2 separate regions of the Homo sapiens genome follow, and region 1 is linked to region 2. Evidence: promoter capture Hi-C in human tissues and cell types (Jung and others, 2019). All regions are on one chromosome and are shown on one strand. Each heading gives the region's core, a stretch centred on a gene start or on the middle of the fragment in contact. The rest is flanking DNA. Distances are from core to core; before and after follow the strand shown. Region 1 overlaps UBE2O (ubiquitin conjugating enzyme E2 O). Region 2 holds the start of ST6GALNAC1 (ST6 N-acetylgalactosaminide alpha-2,6-sialyltransferase 1).

Region 1 (6,380 bases), core at 2,441-4,940, 210 kb before region 2:
GAAGTGCTGGGATTACAGGCGTGAGCCACCGCACCCGGTTCACCTGTTTCTTTTAATGTTTTTAAAATGTGGTCACTTCTCAAGGTCCTTTCGACAAAAAAAAAAAAAAAAAAAAAAAAAGTAAAAGAAAAAAATGTGGTCACTAAAAAATTTTAAAGGACCTACTTGGCTCATATTGTATTTTTTTAAATAATAGTTTAGCTTAATTGTATCAAAACAATGCATGCCTAAGTTAAAAAAAAAACATAGTACTAAAAGGCTTAACAAAAACAGGCAGTCCCCCATCTTACCCTCTCAACTGTGCTCTTTTGAAGCAAATACTTTTTAATTTTTTAGCTGTTTGAATATTTACCTCCATACATATAAACAACATGCTTGCACCCTAATTCCTAACTTATTATAGACATTATCTATTGACGTCCTGTTTTGGTACCTGATGACCTAACTCTTACCCTCCCCTCTGAAGCCCTTTGCCTGTACTCCATCCTTTCAACAGTTCCACTGCATTAATTGAAAAATCTAAATGTGTTATGATGGAGGACAGAGCTCACAGCTGAACCAAGTGGTGTTCCGTGTCCTCACACAACTATGTACATATTGATACTTTTGTCAAATACCTATCCATAACTTTTCTAAATATCTTCAAATTACCTACAAATTATCGATCAGGTATCTTTGGGCTTTGTGTCTTTTTCTTGTCGATCTCTCTCCCTCCTGCAGAATTCCATCCTGTCTCTCTAACTCAGACTTTCCTCTGCCGCTCACCTGTGTCAGATCCCGTTTCCTGGATCCTGGGAAAAGTCCCTGGTTTTGGTGAAGAACAACTCCTTCTATCTCCTCCCCACAAGAGGTTCACAGGAGGCACTTTTTTTCCAGCCCTTACATGCCTAAAAGGAGGGTCTCACTCTGTCACCTAGGCTGGAGTGTAGTGGTGTGATCATGGTTCACTGCAGCCTCAACCTCCTGGGCTCAAATGATCCTCTTACTTCAGCCTCCTGAGTAGCTGGGACTACAGATGCACAACACCACACTTGGCTAATTTTTGTATTTTTTTGTAGAGACAGGGTTTTGCCATGTTTCCCAGGCTGGTCTCGAACGGGGCTCAAGCGATCCTCCTGTCTTGGCTTCCCAAAGTGCTGGGATTACAGGCGTGAACCACCATGCCCAGCCAAAAGAACTTTTTTCTACTCTACTTGACGTAGTTGGGCTGGATACGGAATTCTCTCAGAATGTTGCAGGATTTGCTCTGCTGTCTTCCAGTCTGAGTACCTGTCTTAACTGGCACATATAATTGTTTACTTTCATTGTGATCCATGTGGATTTATTTCTACTACCTTTAGGGCTTTCTGGCTACCATATTTTTTCTTTGCTCTCTTTCTTTTAGACAAATGACCTAGTTTTAAAATTCCATATTTTTACCCTCTGTGAGTTTGAAAGCTTTAAACACTATTTCTATTCTTTTGGTGGTTACCCTTAAAATTGGAACATGTCTACTTGACTCAGAAAGTTTGAAGTCAATCAATATCCCTCCTACACTTCCCAAACAGTTCAAAGAACTTAAGAGTGTGTTCATTCAAATCACCCCCTCACTGATTTCCATTTTTTGTTGGGACTTTGGTTTTTAATCCTCTCCAAATTAGTGACGATCACTTTCAGAAGCGAATGCTTATTCAGATTTACCTGCACTTCCCAACGCCTCTGGATACCATTACTGTCCGCATTTCTCCTTTCTCCTTACTTCCTTCTTCCCGAAGTACAGCGAAGGTCTCTTAGTAAATACAACTTTTTTTTTTTTCTGTGAAAATGTCCTTATTTGTTCCCATTATTGAACGATAATTTAAGCTGGTTGCTGAAAACTAAGCCAACAACTGATTTTCCTTAGCACACTGAAGATTTTACTTCCTTATGGCCTCTACTGTTGCTACTTGGCATTTCCTGAGTTTCACTGTTGAACCTGGGGAGTAATCTGCCTTTCTTCTCAAGCTGCCTTTAGGATGCTATTTTTCCCACTGGGCCCTCATACCACCATCCATGTTTGTAATGTCTCTTCCTCACAAGCATCTCTTTTATCTCTGCAGAATTCTAACTAACTTCTGCAGATCTGTTTTCCAGTTCCCATAGTTCTCTCTTGAGAATTTATGCTATTTGCTGTTTAACATTTCCACTGGGGTTTTAACTCAATGTTTTCACTCTAGAGGCTTTATTTGATTCTTTAAAAAATAATCCCTTTTAAGATGTATTCTGTCTTATTCTTTCCTTTGACATCTATTTCTTCTTTTAGCCCTTCAATCACTTTAGACATTTCTATTATAATCTCTTCTATTATTTGAATTCTCATGTTGAGAATCTTGTGTTTGTTGTGATCGCTGACTCATGTTCTAATTTCTACATGCTTGGTAATTTCCTAGAACAAGCTCATCATCTGTGGGCATCCTAGGATTCCAAAAGGCCTGTACTGTGCAAGGGTCACTCTAGAAAAGTTCTGCCTTTGTTCTGCAAGCAAGAAGCTTCAGGGGTATCGCCAGTCTGCTGGCTGGTCTGGTGCCAGCTCGGGCATTCCTGCAACATGTAGATGTTATAAACACAGACTTAGAACTTGGATGTTTTCCACTGTTCACAGAAGACTTCCTCCAACACAATCCAGAGTGTGGGGCAATGATCAGCTCCCTTGACATTTCTCTGATCCCATGGGGGAAATTTTCTTGCATCCCTTTTACCTGGGAATGGCTCTTTTGAGGGGATTTCTGTTTCAACTCCATGCTTCACGTGTTCATGCAAATCCAAACCTCTATTATTGTTAGGGTCGATTTCAGGGTCCAATGAACCCACCTTGCCCCTCCCCAGAGCTGCCTACTCTGCTCTGGCTTTATATTCCTGCTTTGCTTTCGGTTCTCTGTTTTTCTTTCTTATTCTGTTGTTATAGCTTATATAGCATTTTAAGTGATTGTAATGGGAGCGGTTCTAACTTTAGCTCAAGCTACCATGTCACTGAAACAGGAAATCCACCCCATTGTCTTCTGGCTTCCAATGAGGTTGAAAAATCCAATCCATCTTCATTCCCAGTCTTTTGTATGTGACCCGTTTTTGCTCTTCGGAAGCTTTATGCCCAGTGCTCTGGAATCACACAATGTGCCACAGGACATTTTCCATTTACCATTTTTGAAACTTATGACTGTCCATTCTGAAATAATTCTTGTTTCTCTGATACATTATGGTCCTTAATTTTCCCTTTCTCTCTTTATAGACTTCCTAGATGTCAGACGTTTTTAATCTGTTTCCTGGGAGCCTTCGTCAACTTCAAAGAAAAAGTAATGGTTTTAATTTCCGAGAACTCTTTCTTGTTCTGATTTTTATAGTAACTTTTTATTTCATGGATAAAATATTGGCTCTTCTTTCTGAGTATATTTGCCATGTGCTTTAAGGCTTTCTCCTACCTGAATCAGCTCTGATTCCTCGGAGATACATTTTTCTCTTTGCTTTCTCTGGCCTCTACCTTCCATACTGGAAGCTTTCTGAACATATCCAGTTATTCTTGGCATCCATTCCTATTTAAAAGTGAGGCAATAAGAGATCTTTGTGGTGATGGAAGAGTTGTGTATCTTGACTGCTGTTACATGTGGTTACATGAATCCACAGATGTGATAAAGGGTGTGAAACTGTATGCACATATTGTGTACCCATGTCAATTCCCTGATTTTCATATTGTCTGTGATTATATAAGACATGACCATCAAGGGAAACTGCATGAAGGGTAGAGGGGACCCCTCTACTATTTTTTTTTTTTTTTTTGAGATGGAGTCTTGCTCTGTCGCCCAGGCTGGAGTGCAGTGGCATGATCTTGGTTCACTGCAACCTCTGCCTCCTGGGTTCAAGCAATTCTCCTGCCTCAGCCTCCCGAGTAGCTGGGATTACGGGCGCATGCCACCATGCCCGGCTAATTTTTGTATTTTTAGTAGAGACGGGGTTTAACCATGTTGGCCAGGCTGGTCTCGAACTCCTGACCTCGTGATCTGCCCGCCTCGGCCTCCCAAAGTGCTGGGATTACAGGCATGAGCCACCGCGTCCAGCCAGCCCTCTACTATGTTTGCAACTTCCTATGCATCTATAATTATTTCAAAATAAAAAGTTGGGCTGGGGATGGTGGCTCATGCCTGTGATCCCAGCACTTTGTGAGGCTGAGGTGGGCAGATCACTTGAGCTCAGGAGTTTGAAACCTGCCTAGGCAACATGGCAAAACCCCATCTTGACAAAAAACACACAAATTAGCCAGGAGTGGTGGCGCATGGCTGTAATCCCAGCTACTTGGGAGGCTGAGGTGGGAGAAGTGCTTCAGCCTGGGAGGCAGAGGTTGCAGTGAGCCAAGATTACACCACTGTACTCCAGCCTGGGTGACAGAGTGAGACTCTGTCTCAAAAAAAAAAAAAAAAAAAAAAAGTTAAAAAAGTTGAGGTGATAAAAAGATGATAGAAACCCTGTGAACATAAGCAAGGCTCTGGACAGGTGAGGACCACATTAGATGGAGTAGAAAGCTGGCCACTGCTGTGAGGAGCCACTACATACTGGCAATGGCAGGTCTTGTTGCTGACATGCTCATTTTTTCCAGACTGGAATCCAATGCCATGCCTCATGCCTGGCCTCAGCACTCCAGGAGCAGGCAGGGGCATGGCTGGGATTTGCTCTTTTAGTGTGCAGACGTTCATGAATCCCTCTTTCAGTCCAGCGTTACCCTGCCCCTTGCTCTGCCCAAGGTACCTCAATCTGGTGCATAAGCCTCTGCTCTCTCACTCGCCAGCAAAGGGGATTGAGTATTTTCTGGTTTGCAGAATTCAAAGAGATGACTTGGGAAGTTTCATCCCTCCCTATACAGACTGTCAACTAATCATAATCCCTCTGCTTTTAGGCCCAAACCTTATTCCCACCTTGAGTGCCACCAATTGCCTCCAATTCCTGATGCTTTCTAAAGTGCTTTTCCTTGGTGTTTTTCCGCAGGTACCAACATTTCAGCCTCTGCTCTGCTCAGTCTTCTGTTTGCCTTCCACCTTCTAGAAATTGGAGATCTTTTGTTATTGTTTTCTCTCCCATTCTGTGTCCTTGTGGGTTTATACATCTAAAAACAATTATTTTGCTGTTATTTTAGCAGAGTTTCTAGGGGAAGTAGATTTAAATGAATATGTTCAATCTACCATGTTTACCTAAAGTATGCTAACCGAAGATTTTTTTTTTCAATTTGAGAGCAGGTACTATTTATTAACTGACCAGATTAGAAAAATAATCACGGTAGACACCGCAGTTCATTCTTCTAAGAAGCCTGTGGATCTGGCCCTCCCTGTTGGCAGCAGCTCCATTTTCTACAAAATGGGTGGTCTTTTTCTTCATTCCACTTTGTGGAGAGGATAACTTGAAGGGCCACAGTATAGAGCTCATGAATCAGATCCTCGATGCAGATGATGCCATATTGACCATGAGACTGATCAATCAAAGTGTTATCTGTCAAAGCAATTCGCTTCTTATTGATTTTGCCACGGCCATGCTTGTAGATGAGTTTATTTACTGATTTCAGATTTGGGTTCCCCTTGTAATACATGGTTTCACAATCCTCAGCATGTTAACTGAAGGTCTGCTGAACTTCACAAAGGTTCCATTAAAGATCTGACAAAGGCAAAGAAGCTGCAACATCTTTTGGCCCTTTGGGCTCACACCACTGATACCTCTGACCCTGATGACAAATGCCAATTCGGGTTCTGCAGGCACAAAAAAGTTGCCAGCTTTTCTTGCCATCCTAGCCTTTCAAATTTCAGTTCTGTACATCTGCCTAGATTCCTTGTGGTAGTGCTTCACTTCTTCGTGCATAAGTTTCCTCCCTGCCTTTTGAAGCATCTTTTGGGCAAACTTCTTATTCAGGTGCTTGATCTTTAGTTCTGTGAAATTCCTTTGCTTTTTCCCAAGGGTTTCTGGCACAACAGGAAGCTGCTGCTTCTCTTCGACACCCTCCATGGTTCCAGCCAAAAAAGAGGCAACCGGAGGTTTTTAATCTTTGTTTTGCAAAGTACTTATATACAACTAGATCTGAAGATGAAGGAGAAGTAATAAGTCAACAAAAGCCGGCCACGGTGGCTCATGCCTGTAATCCCAGCACTTTGGGAGGCTGAGGTGGGTAGATCACTTGCAGTCAGGAGCTCAAGAGCAGCCTGGCCAACATGGTGAAATCCCGCCTCTACTAAAGATACAAAAAAAAATTAGCTGGGCGTGCTGGTGCACGCCTGTAATCCCAGCTACTTGGGAGGCTGAGGCAGGAGAATTGCTTGAATCCGGGAGGCACAGGTTGCAGTGAGCCGAGATCGCACTCCAGCCTGGGCGACAGGGTGCTCTGTCTCAAAAAA
Region 2 (6,932 bases), core at 2,117-4,616:
CCCCTTAACTCCAGGGCATGTGGCATCTGCTGGGAAGGCCAGGCCCGGTCACTATGAGTGACTCTCAGGCAGCCCATTCCCACCCCAAAACATCGCCCCAGGAGGACTCTAACCCTCTGAGTTTCTCTCCTCCCCTGTCTTCTTATCTAAGCTAGCTTGTCTTGGGTTTTTGTCAGTTGCGATCAAGTGTTCCAACAAATACAAACCTATATTCACATCATACACAAAAGAAAATTTCTGATGGATTCTTATTAAGCTTAAAGAACAAAAGTACAGAAATATTAATAGAAAGTGTAAAAGAAAATGTATATAATATTAGGGTTGGGAATGACCTTCCTAAAAATTGCACAAAGTCCGGTGACCACAAAGGAAAAGATGGACACATGTTATTGATGTAACAATTACTTCTGTATGACAAAAGATATCACAAACAGTGAAATAAAACCAAACAAATATCAGGCTGAAGAAGATATTTTGAAACAGGAATTAAAAGAAATTAAAGAATGTGTAAGCAAAAACTCAGATGTATGTAAAAAAAACCCAATTCCCTCTAAGAAACAAAAAGAGGTGGAATCCTTTAAAAATTAATTGCCTGTTTTTCTGTCTGTGGCCAGTGAGCCTTATCTCTCCCTTTCCCAGGCATTGTGAAGACCTTGTCTCTGCAGCTGTGTAGCTGCAAGGTCACTAGGCAGATAAACTCAAGTCGTAAAACATATTTTTCCTTGAAAAGTAAGAAATGATGTAATGCATGTCTCAATTGAGTAACTGTCTTTGTTTCTTGCTTCTGTAATATGCTTCCCCCTGCACAGATCTCCCCCTGCCCCACGAAATGCTTAAAAGGTAACCTGACGCTTTGTTCGGGGCTCAGTTTTTTTGGATGTTAATGTGACTGGGCCAGTGCACCTTAATAATGATAATAAATCCTCCTCAACCCTTCAGTCTCTCTGATTCCTAAATTATCCCACTGCATTTAGAAGTATTGTAACATATATGATAAAAAGGTTAATATCCCTAATATACAAAAAGCTCCTACAAATATGAAAAAAATAATAAAAAGGAAGAAAAGATATGAACAGGTCATTCATAGAAAAGTACAAATGACTAAGAAAGTTAAGATTCTCAATACATCAGTGATCTGAGAAATGCAAATTAAAAAGAGAAACACTTTCACCTATCTGATGATTAAGACTTCAAAACCCTAATGAAAGCCAGTGTGGTCCTGGGAGGTAAAGTAAACTTGCACCTGTCAGTGTAGCATTCTGAGACAACAATTCAATGGTGTCCACTGACATTTCATGTAAACATATGCATTGTCTTGGCAATTCCACTTCAAGAAATCTACCCGGAAATCACTTACGCAAGTGCTCAAAGGTATGTGAGAAACTTGATAGGGGTTGGTTAAGTAAACAGTACCTACCCTGTGGAATGCTAAGCAACTGTTGAAAGAAGGGAGTGGACCTGTATGTCCCGACATGGAAAGATGTCCATGATATAGTGTGACTTACAAGGTCAACCTGTGGAACAATATGTAGCATGAGATACATATATATGTATATATACGTATATATGAGATATATATATAAGCTCTCTTGTGCATATATATGTAAATCTATATGATATATATGTGTATATATCTATATCTATATATACAATATATCTATATATACATATCTCTCATGCTACATATTGACATATAGTATATCAATATATAGCGTATATATTGTATATATATCTCCATACTATATATAGATATCTATATCTCCATCTATCTATCCATCTATCTGTCCATCTATCTGCCTATCTCTCTATCTCTCTCTCTCTCTATCTGCCTATCTATCTATCTATCTATCTATCATCTATCTATCGGGCTTGTATAGCATAAAGGTAATGAGCACAGGGTATGGCACCAAAATGCCTGGGTTTGAATCTTGGCCCTGCCGCATACTAGCAGGGTGACCTTGGGAGAATCACTTCAGTTCTGTGTATCTCAGTGTCCTAATAATGAGAATTAGTGAGTTAACGTATATCAAGCACTTAGAATAGGGGCTAGCTCATAGTAAATACTATAGCAGTGTTAGCTACATAATAATAGAATTCCGTGTACCCTCAAGTGTCAAGAGTGGTCACCTTGAAGAGTGGATAGAGGTGGAGGTATAATAGGGAGACCCTCACTTCCTGCTTCACCTTTCTGTATTTTTTTTAACTCTATGAGAACCTGCATTACTTTCAACGTTTAGGAACAGTGAAATGAAATTATTGGCTGGGCGCAGTGGCTCACGCCTGTCATCCCAGCGCTTTGGGAGGCCGAGGTGGGTAGATCACTTGAGGTCGGGAGTTCAAGACCAGCCTGGCCAACATGGTGAAAACCTGTCTCTACTAAAAATACAAAAACTTAGCCAGGCCTGGTGGCATGCGCCTGTAGTCCCAGCTACTCAGGAAGCTGAGGCTTGAACCTGGGAGGTGGAGGTTGCAGTGAGCTGAGATCATGCCACTGCACTCCAGCACTCCGGCAGCAGAGTGAGACTCCGTCTCAAAAAAAAAAAAAAAAAAAAGAGGGCCTCTCACTGCTGGAGATGTGTGTATTTTCTAAGAAAAATGGTCTAGAAGGTATTTTTGAAGGATTAACTTGGCGTCCACAATTGAAACTGCATCCCTAAGAGGGAGGCTCTCCATTTTAACTGACAAACTTAGGGTGAGTCCGGGTCTGAAACAAGTGGAACACACAGCATGGCTCTTTCGCTTCAGGACGTAGAGAATGGCATGTAAGAACTAACCCAGTGCTGCTGCCATTACTCACAGTCCCAGAGGGGAAAGCAGTCATGTCTTCTGTCTGCACTCTGCAGACCTAACCCATCAGTTCTCAAACTCCTGTACGTGTCCCACAGTATCTGGACATGTCCATCCCATGCGTCTTGGTTGCCCACTGCCACCCTTTCTGTTCCCTGCAAGTCTTCCCATTAGTCTTTCTTCCCAGTGCTTCTTGAGAACACTCCTGACCCCTGACACTCCCATGTGGACACACAGGTGGCTCAGACTTCCCCAGTCCTCCCTGGGCTATCATTTTTCTGTTTCCTCAAATGAATGAAATATGAGGAGTGGAAAGGACAAGAATCTTACCTGGAAGGCTTTGTTTGAGGCTCCTTAATAAAAGAGGGCAAGGCGAAGAGAAAGAAGACCAGGACAGCCAGAAGCAAGGACCACTGGACGCCTTGGCTCAGGTGCCTGCATCTCCACAGGCAGGACCTCATGGTGGTGGGTCGGGTTCTAGAGGAAGGTTCTGCATGTCCTGGGGCCTTGATGTAGGCAGCTGGGAGTCTCACCGCTCAGGTTTCCTGGCCAGGAAGTGCACACCCTTTGTCTTAACAATGAGCCACTCCGGCAAGTGCTGAGTTTATCAGTCTCTGCCTGGGAAGGGAGGAACCGCCTTCACTGCTGTATGAAGGCTTATAAGCTGGCGTGGCTTAAAGGAAGGGAAACTCCTTGTGTTCAAACATGTTTACCTTCCTTTTTTGTCTTTGAAGCCAATATCTGAAAGTCAAGCTTTATGAGAAATATAACCACATTATATGCAGTCTCATCTTGGTCAGGTTACTTAACCCATCTGCCGCCATATAAATGGAAAAAAGCAGTTATCTTCCTTTTGGGATTATCATGAAGACACCTTGAGGCCACCATGCACAGGGCTTTGTTTGTGGTAGGCACCCAACACACATGTTCAACACTTTAGCTCAACCTTCTCTGTTTCTCTTCTGAAATCATGACCATTACAACAATGACCAGCACGTATGAGGGCTCACTCTGAGCTGGGCAGTGGGGAGTCTTCACAGGCACTCATGGAACCCTCACAGCCACTCTAGGGGCTGGGTACTGTCATCACCTCCATTTGACAGAGGAGGAAATGGCCTCCAAGAACAAGCTGCCAGCCCAAGAGCACATGGTGAGCCACTGGCTTGGGGTCCAGATCCAACTGACCTAGAGATTGCATTCTTTTTTTAAGAAATAGAGATGGGTCTCAGTATGTTGCCCAGGCTGGTCTCAAACTCCTGGACTTAAGTGATCCTCCCACCTCAGCCTCCCAAAGTGCTGGGATTACAGGCATCGGCCACCATGCCCAGCCATGATTGCATTTTTCTTTCTTTTTTTTTTTTGAGACATTCTCACTCGTTGCCAGCCTGGAGTGCAGTGGCGCAATCTTGGCTCACTGCAACCTCCGCCTCCCGGGCTCAAGTGATTCTCCTGCCTCAGCCTCCTGAGTAGCTGGGACTACAGGCACCCAACACCACACCCGGCTAATTTTTGTATTTTTAGTGGAGACGGGGTTTCACCATGCTGGCCAGGATGGTCTCGATCTTCTGACCTCATGATCCACCTGCCTCGGCCTCCCAAAGTGCTAGGATTACAGGTGTGAGCCACCGTGCCTGGCCGATTGCATTCGTATCCACTGCTTAGTAGCACCTACGAGAAATCATTAACTCTACCTTGATCAAAGCAATGCAAAACAAAACCCACATAATTCTTGGGAAAAAAAAGTACACCTCAGAGGAAAAACATCAAGACCATTTGTAGAAAACTTTAAAAATTCAGAGAAGCAGCCCTCCATAAAGTACTGTGAGTTAGTAATTTTATAAAAATATTGTCCAGGGTGTTGAACTGTGGGAGAGGTTTTGGAGCCTGGGCTCACTGTTCACACCTGGCGGTGGGCATTTCTCCTAACGTACAGTTTTCAGTTCTGTACACAAGGCTCTTGGCCTTCACCCATGGCACGCACCGATAAATGATTAAACCACCTTCCTCAAGGAGGACGAAAAAGGCAGGAACATACGTCTGAGCAGCTGAGGGTAATACAGACGACTGATGGTTTCCTTTATCCCCTACTGTACACTGCAACTCACAGCACTGTTTCAAGTCATGGTGGCAAGGAGAAACATCTCTGTTAGTACTGACTCAACCTCTCTCTTTCTCTCTCACCGTGCCTAACCTACAGATGCTCATATGTTAACTCTATAAACATTTTCTGAATTGATCTGTATCAAGTCATAACTCTTTGTCCTAACTGGCCCCTTATCCTGAGTTCCTTTATGCACTTGACATGTACAATTATATTCCTGTATCCTGGTGCCTGCTTGCAACGCTATGCAAATAAGTGCACAGTGAAAAGGCATGTTCTTACCCACAGTACTAGTGTGACTAAATAGAGTATCTCTTTCATCGTGCCCTGTGTTCTGAAGAAGGCACTGGCTGTCAGTGCTCGCTGCCTTCCGCAGGGCATGGAGATCCAGCTGAGCTCCTGGGTGCAAGCTGAGCTACTGTGGACAATCTGTCCCTCTCGCCACATTAGAGGCAGGTTGAACTTGAAGACCTTGTGGCCAACTGGTGTGGCAGGATAATCCAGAGTCCTAGTTTCCTGGTTCTCAGGTTCCAGCCCACTGCTGCTGTAGCATGTGCCTGGGCAGAATGTGGGATCCAGAGAAGTGTGTGTTTTAGGAGAAATTGACTTTCCAATTATTTTGTTTTTGCTTTTTGAGACAAGGCCTCTTTCTGTCATCCAGGCTGGAGTGCAGTGGTGCAATCATAGTTCACTGAAGCCTTGAATTCCTGAGCTCACAAGATCCTCCTGCGGCAGCCTCCCTCCAAAGTAGCTGGGATTACAGGTGGGTGCCACCACACCTGGCAAATTTTTTTTGTAGAGATGGGGGGGTCTTGCTATGTCGTGCAGTCTGGTCTTGATCTCCTGGTCTCAAGCGACCCCACTTCAGCCTCCCAAAGTGCTGGGAGCACTTCATGTGAGCCGCCACGCCCAGCTGCCAATTATTTTTTAAACATCGTCACAATTTTGTGTTTGGTAAGATCTACCTTTCTCTCCTTTTTATTGTTTTATTTTATTTTATTCTCTTAAGCTCAATGGCAAAAACTTTTTCTCCTTTTTAAACTAAAGCTTTGAGCTTGAGTCTTTGAACTTTAGTATACATCAGCTGATGGGACATGTGAGAACTTACATGCAGATAAGAGTTGTTAAAAGATAATTTTCAGTAAAAGGTAAAATCATTACTCAAATAGATAGAAGACATAAAAATGTGCTAAAGATTTGATTCTACTCATGAGAGGACCAGGCAGATATAATAACCAGTTCAAAAGAGAAGTGCATGAGCACAAAGTAATTTAGATTGTTTTTCATTTGCTTCTTTCAAGATTTTTCTCTATCTTTGGCTTTCAGTATTTTGACTATGATGTGTCTGTGTGGGTCTTCCTGCATTTATTCACTTGGAGTTTCTGGGATCTATGTATTAGTGTTTTTCAACAAATTTCAGAAGTTTTCAGGTATTATTTGTTTGAATATTTTTTTCTCTCTATCTCTGCCTCTTGAGCATTCTTTCCTAGGATGAGTATGTTGGTGTGCTTAACAGTATTCTACATTTCTCTGAGGCTCTGTTCATTTTTACTTATTATTTTTCGTAGTGTTCTTCATCTGTATTAATCTGTCTTCATGTTGGCTGATTCTTCCTTCTGCCAACTCAAATCTACTATTGAGCCCCTCTAGTGAATTTTTCATTTTGATTATTTATTTTTCAACTTCAGAATTTTCATTTACTTAATAATTTTGTTCTATCTTTTTAGTGAACATTCTCTATTTCATGAGTCATTATTATCATGCCTTTCTTTAATCTTCAATTCTTTAAACATGGTTTACATTAAAAACTTTTTTTTTTGGAGACAAGGTCTTGCTCTGTCACTCAGGCTGAAGTGCAGTGGCGTGATGATAGGTCACTGTAACCTTGAACTCCTGGCCTCACGTGATCCTTTCTCCCCAACCTCCCTAGTAGTTAAGACTACAGGCTAATTTATTTAAATATATATATATTTTGTAGAAACAGGTTTTCACTGTGTTGCCCAGGCTGGTCTTGAACTCCTGGCCTTAAGCAATCCTCCTGCCT

What was found. The method cuts DNA at HindIII sites, captures the fragments that hold promoters and counts their contacts. A contact is called where the count stands out against the background at its distance.
Region 1: a contact is called between a fragment that was not itself captured here and the fragment with the promoter of ST6GALNAC1 in region 2, in 2 of the 25 tissues and cell types used here (dorsolateral prefrontal cortex and thymus).

What each region holds. Positions count from the first base shown.
Region 1 is chr17:76,425,131-76,431,510 of GRCh38, forward strand. All of the region lies in intron 1 of UBE2O (ubiquitin conjugating enzyme E2 O), which reads right to left. It also overlaps the pseudogene RPL7P49. Among named protein-coding and RNA genes, the nearest start is that of UBE2O, 25 kb to the right of the region's middle. The HindIII fragment of the contact is 3,437 bases long and covers 1,973-5,409 here.
Region 2 is chr17:76,640,391-76,647,322 of GRCh38, forward strand. It overlaps ST6GALNAC1 (ST6 N-acetylgalactosaminide alpha-2,6-sialyltransferase 1), which reads right to left and starts at 3,367. Exons shown (of 9, transcript NM_018414.5): 1 at 3,118-3,367. The coding sequence starts at 3,248. The HindIII fragment of the contact is 5,915 bases long and covers 1-4,737 here.